Regions from separate parts of the Homo sapiens genome. Here region 2 is linked to region 1. Evidence: promoter capture Hi-C in human tissues and cell types (Jung and others, 2019). All regions are on one chromosome and are shown on one strand. Each heading gives the region's core, a stretch centred on a gene start or on the middle of the fragment in contact. The rest is flanking DNA. Distances are from core to core; before and after follow the strand shown.

Region 1 (5,509 bases), core at 2,199-4,698:
GACTTCTAATTATTTGGAGACATCTCTCCATTAAACCTGAATGGTATTACACATCATTTGTAATTGTTGAAATTGGCATTATTTGTATAGGCTACTTTGTTCTAAAATTAATTTCTATCCCCAATAGCTCACTGGTTTATGTTTGTGGAACAAATTTCCAAAACTACTTTTTTTGGCATCCTTTTCAGTGATCAAGAATTGAGTTCATCTTTGTAATTTTCTCCTATTTATGTAGAAAGTTAGGCCCTCCTATTTGATGTTTGAAGATAAATGCAAGAGTATACTTTGGATTTCTGACCATTAAGTCACTTGGTCAAATCTTTCTAGACTGATACATTGAATCATCTTTCTTGTTTTCCTAAATACTCGAGAAATAATGTCTTTCCTATATCATTTTGTTTTATCTTGCAGTTTCTTTGCTAGTTTCCTGTTTTTGATTGACCTCACTTAGTTCTTTTTTTCATCTTAGCATTTCTTCCCTCCCTAATTTCTTGAATTCCATATGCTATTTTTTTTCCAAGAGTGTGTTCTTCTTAGGATGAAGAACTTGTATTTTTCTATGATTATGTATATCACCTGTATTGTTATTTTACTTACAATAAGACGCTCCAAAGCAGTGCTGACACAGGAACATGTAACAAAGCCCTGCGAAGAGTCTAAAATTGATTGTTTTGTAACTGTTACCAAAAAAAAAATCAAAAATATACATAAAGCTATTATTTTGGAAAAGAACAAAAATGCTAGCCATAACAATGAATGAGTTTGCAAACTATGAAATATAAAAGGTTAGAGAGAGGTTCTCAATGAGTAATAGAATTTCTAAGGGAAATTTTTATACCTTGATTACTATAGAGTGTGTGTCTATCTAGATGAAGAAATAAAATAATGAATAAATTTGCATATTTTCTTCTTTCTTTCTGTTACTAGATGAAGCAAACTTTAATTAGATCCCAATTTGCTTGTACTTATAAAGATGACTACATGATAAGCAAGGATAATTGGAATAATGTTAATTTAGCATCAAAGCCTTTGTGTGTTCTTTACATGGAAAATGACCTTTCTGGTAATTGACCTTATTTGTGCAATTAAATAACAATTTAATTCTAGTCTACTAATTAGTTTTAACTTAAGTAAAATTAGGTTATTTTTGCAAAGTACTATGAAATGTAAAGGGTAATATTTTTAAAGACCTCAGTTTATTTAAAAAGTTAAATCTAAGTACAAATTTATCGATAGGAATAGGACACAGTTTGATTTAACTAAATGTATTTAAGAAGTAATTTGTAGCATATGTTTAAGGATTAAATGTCATGCATTCAAACAAATATTTCTTAATAGGGCTGACAAGTTGATTACTGGCCAAAGCTAACTCAGAGGTGCTATGATAAAATGAAAAGTAATAGGATAGTAATGTAGCTATATTTGTCAATCATATTATTTATAGCATTATTTTACTTTAAAAATTTGAATATTCGTTAGCCATTTTTAAAGTTTATTGTAAAGTTCTCGTAAATATTAATACTCAATATCATGTAATTCCTTTCCCCTTTTTATCTTGCATAACAGAGGGTGTAAATCCATCTGTTGGAAGATCAACAATTGGAACGAGTTTTGGAAATGTTCATCTGGACAGAAGTAAAAATGAAAAAGTATCAAGAAAATCAACCAGTCAGACAGGAAATAAAAGCTCAAAAAGGAAACAGGTGGATTTGGATGGTGAAAATATTCTCTGTGATAATAGAAATGAACCACCTCAACATAAAAATGCTAAAATACCTAAGAAATCAAATGATTCACAGAATAGATTGTACGGCAAACTAGCTAAAGTAGCAAAAAGTAATAAATGTACTGCCAAGGACAAGTTGATTTCTGGCCAGGCAAAGTTAACTCAGTTTTTTAGACTATAAATTTGTGTCTTATATGCTTTAGGTTTATGTATCTATAAACCATTCACCAAAGACATGCTTAATTTTTAAGAGATCAAGGTGTAAATTATGATGATTTATTATTTTGGTCTACAGTGTATGTAAGGTTAGTATGTTAAGCATTGTTTAAAAATACTAGTAAGTCATAATTATGCAGAATTTTCACAAAGTTTAATGCACAGAGAAAGCATATCATTTCAGTTACTGATACATCTTAACACTACTTTCTTTTAAAACAGACATTTAACATACACAAGTTATAGTAGCAGTATGGGCTTCTCCTCCCATTGGCAATTAAATGCTTTTATTTTCTTCTGAAAAGATGATGTGGACCAACAGGTATCAGACTTGCCAACAAGGTCGGTAGACTCTTCCCAGCATACATCTGAGCACTGAAGGAAGAAGAAAGTTTAAATTGTTTAAAGGACTATAATTATCACACAAAATTTATTAAGAAAAAAAGAATGGATCTAGTATAACTAATTCTGAGTAAACCAAAATGATAATAATTAATTGTTGCTATTTAATCCCACATTTTTGGCAGGTGTAATTGAGCCATGGTCTTATTTGATTTTGTTATGATTGCATCCAAATTCACTTTAACTCAGAGTTCTGTTTAATGGTGGTAGGATGTAAGAATTGAATTTTGAAAAGACTACTCACTGTCAAAATCTCTCCTTCCTATAGGAAATTTAGCTGAGTTTTCTTCATCCCCAATTTCTCTCTTTTCTTGTGTTGATTCAGTATTCTGAACTCCATTCTCAGCTGGGAAAGCTACAGATCCTTTTAGTGCAAGATAAGGTTTTATAGCCAGATTCAGTGGCAGACCATGATTTAAGAAATTATGTTTGGAGCCTGTGTTCTGTAAAGAGAAGGTTGATTTGGTTTTTAGCTATCGTATTCGGAGTGGAACTATAATACAATTGTATAATATTCTTGTTGATCAATTCAAAGTTACTCTGCACTGTTTTTGACTTTTTAAAAATACCTTAGATGCAAATTTATAGGAGAAAAAACACTTTCAGATAAGAGGTGTTTGCTGGGATGGAAGAACTACCTGGCATGTAAGAAATATCGTCAGTCGTCCTAATGCATATTGTGACTGTTTGCATATACTTCTGTTTATAAAAGTATCAGTTTTACTTTTCAGAGGATTTGTAAGAATCATTTAAATTTTCATTGAAATAAACGACAAGTCACATTGCCACTTACCTTTGAAACTTTATTTTCCTCTTCGTTCATGAAACTGCTCTCATCATTTTTATATTGTTCCAGGGAAGGAGCAATAACTGATTTTTCTGCAGTGTCTTCCTTCTGAAAGCCTTTCCCCAACCTGAATGTATTAAATACCATGTCATCATCTAAATTTCTTATGGACTTGGATGCTGAAAGTAAAATACCTTGAGAAAACAAAGAAAAAGTTAGTATTAATATATAGGAAGAGAGATTCATTTTTGCCATTCTTAGTTTGATGTTTGCATACAGTCAAACAAGAAAGAAAATGAAAAATTTCTCTGTCAGCCTGCTTGGTAAACGATTCTGTATCTTTATATATTTTCTAGCTTGAATAGAAAGCACTTCAAAGAATTATACTTTTCATCATTTTAGAAATGACTCATTAGATTGAGGCTAACCTTTATGCAGCTGCTAATACCTACATTGTTTTGGTTTTAGTGACACATTGTTTATTTTGAGTGTGAATTTTCTCAGAATCTGACTAAGATCCTTGGTAGAATGCTTTCTGTTGAGTAGATTATAGTCTCTTGAAAATGGGTTGTTATTAAGGAAGACCACAGGACATCAGGCTCTCTCTATATTATTGTTTCCTTTTGTGTATTTTCTGATTAAGTAAAGATATTAAAACTCAAGTTATTTCACTCAAGGATGATAAGGATAAAGTTTTATTTCCTTTTAATCCTGATTAAACTGAAATAATCCTCAAAAGAGACTTTCTTTTATAAATACTTGATATAGTTTTTGGTGATTAAAGTACATATGCCTGTCAGTGTGAACAAAAAGCCATTCATGCTATATCAAAAATTGACCTGTCAGGTGTATTTTATCTCTGCATTTACAAAAGGATAATATGTACAAATATTTATTAATGAATTTAGAAATTAATGAATTAGTCCATGAAAAGAATATTTATGTGCCCATAAACATTACTTTTGGATGATGAGTTTATGTTGTATGACTTTTAATTAAACATTTCAGAGTTAATTTCTAATTTTGACCCCAATGAATAAGATAATACATTCTTTTATATGTCTTCTGGTACATATATGTAAGAATTTTTCTAGAGTATATTTCTCAGTATGGAATTACTGGATCATGGAGTATGTATATGTTCAGCTTTACTAATGCCAAAATGTTTTCCAACATAGTTGTAAGCGATTTGTGCCCTCGATAAGCAGGGTATGAGAATTTCCATTGTTCCATGTCCTAGCTGACTCTTGTGTCTCATTGTCCTTTTAATTTGTATTTTCCTAATTACCAAAGAGGTTAAGTGTCTTCCCATATGTTTCTGAGCCATTTATGTTTCCTCTTATGTTAAATGCTTTTTTTTTTTTTCTTTTTTGGCTTTGTCCATTTTTCTATTGGGTTGTCTTTTTCTAATTTATTTATGGGAGTTCTTTATATATTCTGGATATTAATTGTTAGTTATATATGTTTCAATTATTTTCGCTCAGTTTGTGACATATTTTCAACCCCTCTGGTGTCTTTTGGTGAACCAAACTGATTAATTTTAATGTTTAAATATTTTTCTTTTTTCTTTATGGCAACTACTTTTAATGTGTTGTTTTTTTTTAGAAATCCTTCTCAATCCTTAGATTATTAACGTGTTTTCATATATTTTCTTCTAAAAGTTTAAATATTTTGACTTTCATGTTTAGGTTTGTAATTCATCTGTAATTTTGTGTATGATATAAGATAGAGATGTAATTTTACTTTTTCCAATGTCCTTATATATTTCTTGAAGAAGTCATCCTGTCCCCACTAATCTGCAGTGCCATCTCTACAGTATATCAGATTTCTATATATGTGTGGGCTCCTTTCAGAACGTTCTATTCCACAGCCAAATCTACAGTATTAATATAACTTTAAAATAATTTTTAATATCTGGTCAAATTTCCCAGCCCTCTACTTACCCACATGTTTTTCTTTTACAGCAGTTCCTTAGCTATTCTTAGTCATTTCTTTTCCATATAAATCTTAAAATCAGCTTTTCAAGTTCCGTAAGAACACTTGACAGGATATTAAGGTTCTAGTTAGGTATCCCTTATCTGAAATGCTTAGGACCAGAAGTATTTTTGGATTTGGGATATTTTTTTCAGAATTTGGAACATTTGCATTATATCAGTTAAGTATCCCAAAATCTGAAATCTGAAATGCTTCAATGAATATATATTTTTTAGCATATTGTTAATGCTTAACAAGTTTCAGATTTTGGAGCATTTTTGGATTTTGGCTTTTCAGATTTGGGATGCTCAACTTATAATCACATTGGTTTTATAGATTTATAGATTAATTTTGGAGAAGAACTGATATCCTGAAGGTAATTTATTATCTATGAGCATGACATT
Region 2 (5,304 bases), core at 630-3,129, 75 kb after region 1:
TGTGAAGTTGATCAAGCATCTGCATGTATTTACAAATTCTCCCCCACCCAATTTTAGTTAATTTTCAAAGTAGGTAATATATGCACTTGGTACAAAAAAAATTCAAAAGGCGGTCGGGCGCGGCAGCTCACGCCTGTAATCCCAGCACTTTGGGAGGCCGAGGCGGGCGGATCACGAGGTCAGGAGATCGAGCCCATCCTGGCTAACACGGGGAAACCCCATCTCTACTAAAAACACAAAAAATTAGCCGGGCGTGGTGGTGAGCGCTGGTAGTCCCAGCTACTCGGGAGGCTGAGGCAGGAGAATGGTGTGAATCCAGGAGGCGGAGCTTGCCGTGAGCCAAGAACGAGCCACTGTACTCCACCCTGGGTGACAGAGCGAGACTCCGTCTCAAAAAAAAAAAAAAAAAAAAAATTCAAAAGGCGTCAACAAATAGACAATGAAAATAAATGTTGCCCCTCAGTCCTAACACAGCTATCAGTTATTTGTGTTTCCTGAGATATTATGTATACATATTATCATATATATATACAGTCTAAAAACAGACCTGCAATGATAGCATATTTTACACTCTGCTCTGTATCTTGCCTTTTCCTTGTAACAAGATGTCTTGGATACTATTCTATAGTTGTATTTAGCATTCCATTCTAGGGATGCACCATGATTTATTTAAGCAATCTCTATTGATGGGAATTTAGATTATTTCCAGTTTTTTTGCTATTACAAGTTGTGCTATAGTGAATTGTTTTTAGCTCCCTCTTTGTGCATTTGTTTGAATATATGTGAATGATAACTTTAAAAGTAGAATACAGGGATGATACTTACATGTATTGAAAATATTAACAGGTATTGCCCAGTGACTCTCCATAGGGACTGTACCAAGTGAAATTCTCACCTGAAAGTATGAGTGCCCATTTCCTCATATTATTAAACTCTTAAAATTTGTTCTCATCTGATAAATGAAAATCAGCATCTTCTTGTTTTTCCTTTCGTTTTAAAAAATGAATTTGTATTTTTGTCTGTACTCCTTTTTTTTCTTATCTGTCTATGACCTTTGCCCATTTTTCTATATTGATTTTCCTGAGCTTACACATTTTATGAAATTAGCCTTTTATAATTTGTATTGCAGATGCTTTCTTCCAATTTATTGGCTGTGCTTTGACTTTGCTTGCTTGTTTCTTTAGGTACTTAGACTTTTTATTTATATATAGTTGAATTCATCCATCTTTTAAAAAATGGTTTTAGTCAAACCATTCTCACTCAAGAGATTATTGTCTTATACCTCATGCTTTCTTTAGTATCTTTTCCTAATTTTATTTTTATGTTGAAATCTTTCTCAATGGAGAATTTGTTTAAAGGGAAAAGCAGACTATTAATTGCTACATCCATGATGTTCCATTTATAACTTTTACTTTAATTTTTTGATGAATCATGGGCAATGGAATAAGATTCCATTTTTTACCTTCAAAATAATATGTTTGAATCACTTATTTAATTTACTTGCAAAAATAAGTTCTGCAAGAAAAGAGTCTTCATTAGATTTTTTTCCCACTCCAAGAAAAGCCATATAGTCTGGTTGAGTTAATTGTAACAAGATTAGGGTGGGAAGAAGGTCAGAGAGTGTGTTTAGCTATTGTAAACTTTGTGAGCAAATGCAAACTATGGCGAATACAGTTTACAGTTTTATGGAAACAAAGACAATTCTCTAGGGCCAATGTTCTAAAAAATGTAGTTTCCTATAACAAAAATTTATATTCTCAACATTACAAGTCAACAATTCTTGAAATTATTAAAACAAACCTTTGAATATTATAAGAAAACTGTCTTATTCTGTAAACTTAGGCAGAAATTCAATGTTAAGATAACATGATACAGAATAAGTATAGATTTAATTTAAATTTTATGGTAACTGGTATATAAATATTCTCTGAACTTCTTCAATATTTAGCTAAAACAAAGGGCAATATCTAGTCCAATGCTTTGTGTTTTAAAAGCACTTGTGTCAACAACTCAAAGTTTCTCATTAAATAACATTGAAACATATTGCTATCATTATAACTATTATTTTAACCAAAGCTTAGTCAAAGACCTTGGCCACAGAATGATACACTTTAACAGATAATGAACCTAAGCTATATGACATTGCAAAACATGGCACTTTGAATTTAAATTTAACAAATTTGATGAAAACTCTCATTATTGATAGAGTACTTTCTGTTGCCACACTTACTAATTTTGATTACTGCCAAACTTTTTAAAAATTAATTTTAATTACGCAACAAAACATGGATACGTTCACATTTGAAAAAGACAAGAGAAGATAAACCTAAAGATCCCTTTGTTTCTACTCTCTTGCCTGATTTTCTCTTCACCAAAACCTCAACCTCAGACTGAAGTTTGGGGCTTATACTTCCAGAGATTGTTTCACTTCTTCACTCAACACTATATTTTTCATATCTATTTGTATTGAGACATTTAGATCTTGTTCATTTGTTTTAACTGTTGCACAGAATTTTATTAAATACATATACACATAATCACATTCCTCTGTTGATGGACATGTAGTTTGCTTTTGGTTTTTCATTATTATAAATAACAATGCTTATAACTGTCTACCAGTGCAGACTTTTTCCTAAAGAAAGAGTCCTGGAATTGAAATTATTGGTTTATAGGATATGAGCATTTTGAGTTTTAATAGATACTGTCAAACTATTCTTCAAAATGGCTGTACTTATTTATTCTTCCATCAGCAGTATATAATAATGGTGATTTCTCTACATCTTTTCAACACTTAATTTTGTCAAACTTCTAAAATTAGTGCTAATTTGGTGAATGTGAACAAGTATCTCATTATTTAATTTGCATTTTCTTGATTACTACTGAGTTGATTATCTCTTCATATGTATACTGGCCACTCAAGTTTCTTTCCCTGTGAATTATCCTTTGCCCAGTTTTCTTTTGGGCTGCTTTTCAATTTCTTGTAGGCCTGTACGAGTTCTTTATTTTGTCCCAAATATTAATCCTTTTTATATTATTTGTGTTACAGTTATTTTATCCAAGCCTAGTGATTATTTTTAAACTCTATTTCTTGTGTCTTAAGTAGAGCAGGATATTGCATAGTGGTTAAGAGTATGGGCTTTAAAAGCAAATGACTTGGGTTTGAATCCCCACTCTGAAACTATTTGTGTGATCTTTGGTAAGTTACCTAACCTCTCTTATTCTCAAGTTTCTCACCTGTAAACTTAAGATTATAATAGAAATCACCTCACAGGGTTGATGTGAATGTTAAATGGCTTAAATAATGAATAGTCTCTGGCATATAATAAGTACTCAATAATTATTATTACTATATAGTCAAATTTAACAATAATTTGTTTATAATAATTGTTAAATAATTGTTAGATAAAAAGCCTTGTTTGAGAATGCTTTTCCTAATGTGAAGTTTAAAAATGTTTTATATTTTGTATTAGTAATTTTATTGATTTTATGTTTATTTTAAAAATTTGTCTAGATATTTTCCATGTGGCATAGGTAGGAATGTTAATTTTAATTTTTTTCATCTGTATATGAAGCTAATTATACCAGTTCCATTTACGTAAAGGCCTATTATTTCCTGATTGATTTAAAGTGTAACTTCTATAATATATTAAATTCCCATAAGATCACTTTCATATTATCTTCTTTTTTAGTGATTTGTCTATTATTGTGTCATTGTTACATTTTTAAAATTTAATTATTGAAGATTTATAATATTCCCTGAATTTTTTTTGCATGCTTCTAAATTTCAGTTGTGCTTTTAATATTTGATGGTCACTTAAGTTGGATACAAAATCATTGACTCATTTTTTTCTTGGCCTTGAGTAAGAAATATATCTCTCCATTGTCTTCCATATCTAAAAGAGTTATGCCTAAATGATAACTTTCCTTCTTGTATGTAATTTACTTTTTTGGCTTAAATAACAAGAAAATATTTTTTAAGGTACAATAGTTTTATTACATTTTGGTGGTAATCATTCTGGGAAAATTTTCCTATGTACATGGTATTCCCTTTAATATGTAAAGTATTTTGTTATTTTAACAAAGTTTTCTTTAATGACATATTTAAAATTTTGTTTTCTGGCACTGATTTGCTTTTTTCCTTTGAGAATCTTATACATACATGCTGTGTATATATATCCTTTTGTTTTTTCATTTCTACTTGATTTTTTCTAAAATTTCTGCTTTCCATTCTCTATTGTCTAAGTGTCATCTGTATACTGCTGTGTTTCTTCTAGTATAGTCCTCTCTTCTGCAATTTACGAAGTGTGTTTTGATGACAAACTCCAAATTTATAGTTGTATGTTAAATCTTTATTATACTCTCATTTTTAATATTTATATTTTTAGGTATAGAATTCTATTTTAGCAGTTAGTACCATTGACACAAAGATATTCCTTTGTCTTCTAGTTTTCATTGTTGTTATTGAGAAGTCAGCTGTCTTTTCTAACTGTTGTTTCTCTCAAGGTAATTATTTTAAAATATAGGTTTTATTATAATTCAGGTATATTGAGGCCATCAGATCAGGAGACTACTGCCATTAAAAAGATAGTTTGTTCTTCACAGCTCTCAACAGGAGGGGACATGCATGCTATGTAATATCACATGGAGAAACACCAGGTTGGTCAGGAAGCAGAAAGAATGGAAACAAAACATGGTCAAAAGGCATTATTGTGGCTTCTGTATAAAGGAATGTGTATTAGTCAAGGTTCTTCAGAGAAACAGAATGAATAATGTGATAGGTAGAGAGATTGATAGCTAGATAGATTTATCATAAGAAATTGGCTCTGGTAATTATAGAGACTGAGAAGTTTCAAGATCTGAAGTCAAGAAGCTGGAGATCCAGGAGAGCTGATTTCAGTCCAGTAGTTCCAGTCCAAGTCTGAAAGCCTATGAGAAGATCTGATGGTGTAAGTTCCAGTTCAAAAGTTGTCAGACTGGGAAGCCAAGAAGAGCCAATTTTTCATTTCAAGGGTAAGAGAAAGAAAAGACCAATGTCCCAGTTCAAGAATTCAGGCAGGAGGAGTTTCCTCTTACTCAGCCTTTTCATTCTAATCAGGTCTTCCACTATTTGGATGAGGCCCACCCACATTAGAGAAGGCAGTCTGCTTTACTCAGCCTACCTATTTAAATGTTAATCTCATCCAGAAACACTTTCCTATACACATCCAGAGTAATGTCTGGCCAAATGTCTGGGCACCCTGTAGCCCAGTCAAGTTGACATGTAAAATGAACTATAAAAGAATAGGTGAGGCAGGGCGAATGGTT

What was found. The method cuts DNA at HindIII sites, captures the fragments that hold promoters and counts their contacts. A contact is called where the count stands out against the background at its distance.
Region 2: a contact is called between a fragment that was not itself captured here and the fragment with the promoter of PMCH in region 1, in 2 of the 25 tissues and cell types used here (aorta and stomach).

What each region holds. Positions count from the first base shown.
Region 1 is chr12:102,194,385-102,199,893 of GRCh38, forward strand. It overlaps PMCH (pro-melanin concentrating hormone), which reads right to left and starts at 3,449. Exons shown (of 3, transcript NM_002674.4): 1 at 3,138-3,449; 2 at 2,589-2,787; 3 at 2,075-2,317. The coding sequence starts at 3,386. The coding sequence ends at 2,268. PARPBP (PARP1 binding protein) reads left to right here. Exons shown (of 11, transcript NM_017915.5): 10 at 928-1,063; 11 at 1,567-3,136. The coding sequence ends at 1,907. The HindIII fragment of the contact is 16,025 bases long and covers 1-5,509 here.
Region 2 is chr12:102,270,750-102,276,053 of GRCh38, forward strand. No RefSeq gene overlaps it. Among named protein-coding and RNA genes, the nearest start is that of LINC02456, 6.2 kb to the right of the region's middle. The HindIII fragment of the contact is 6,539 bases long and covers 1-5,149 here.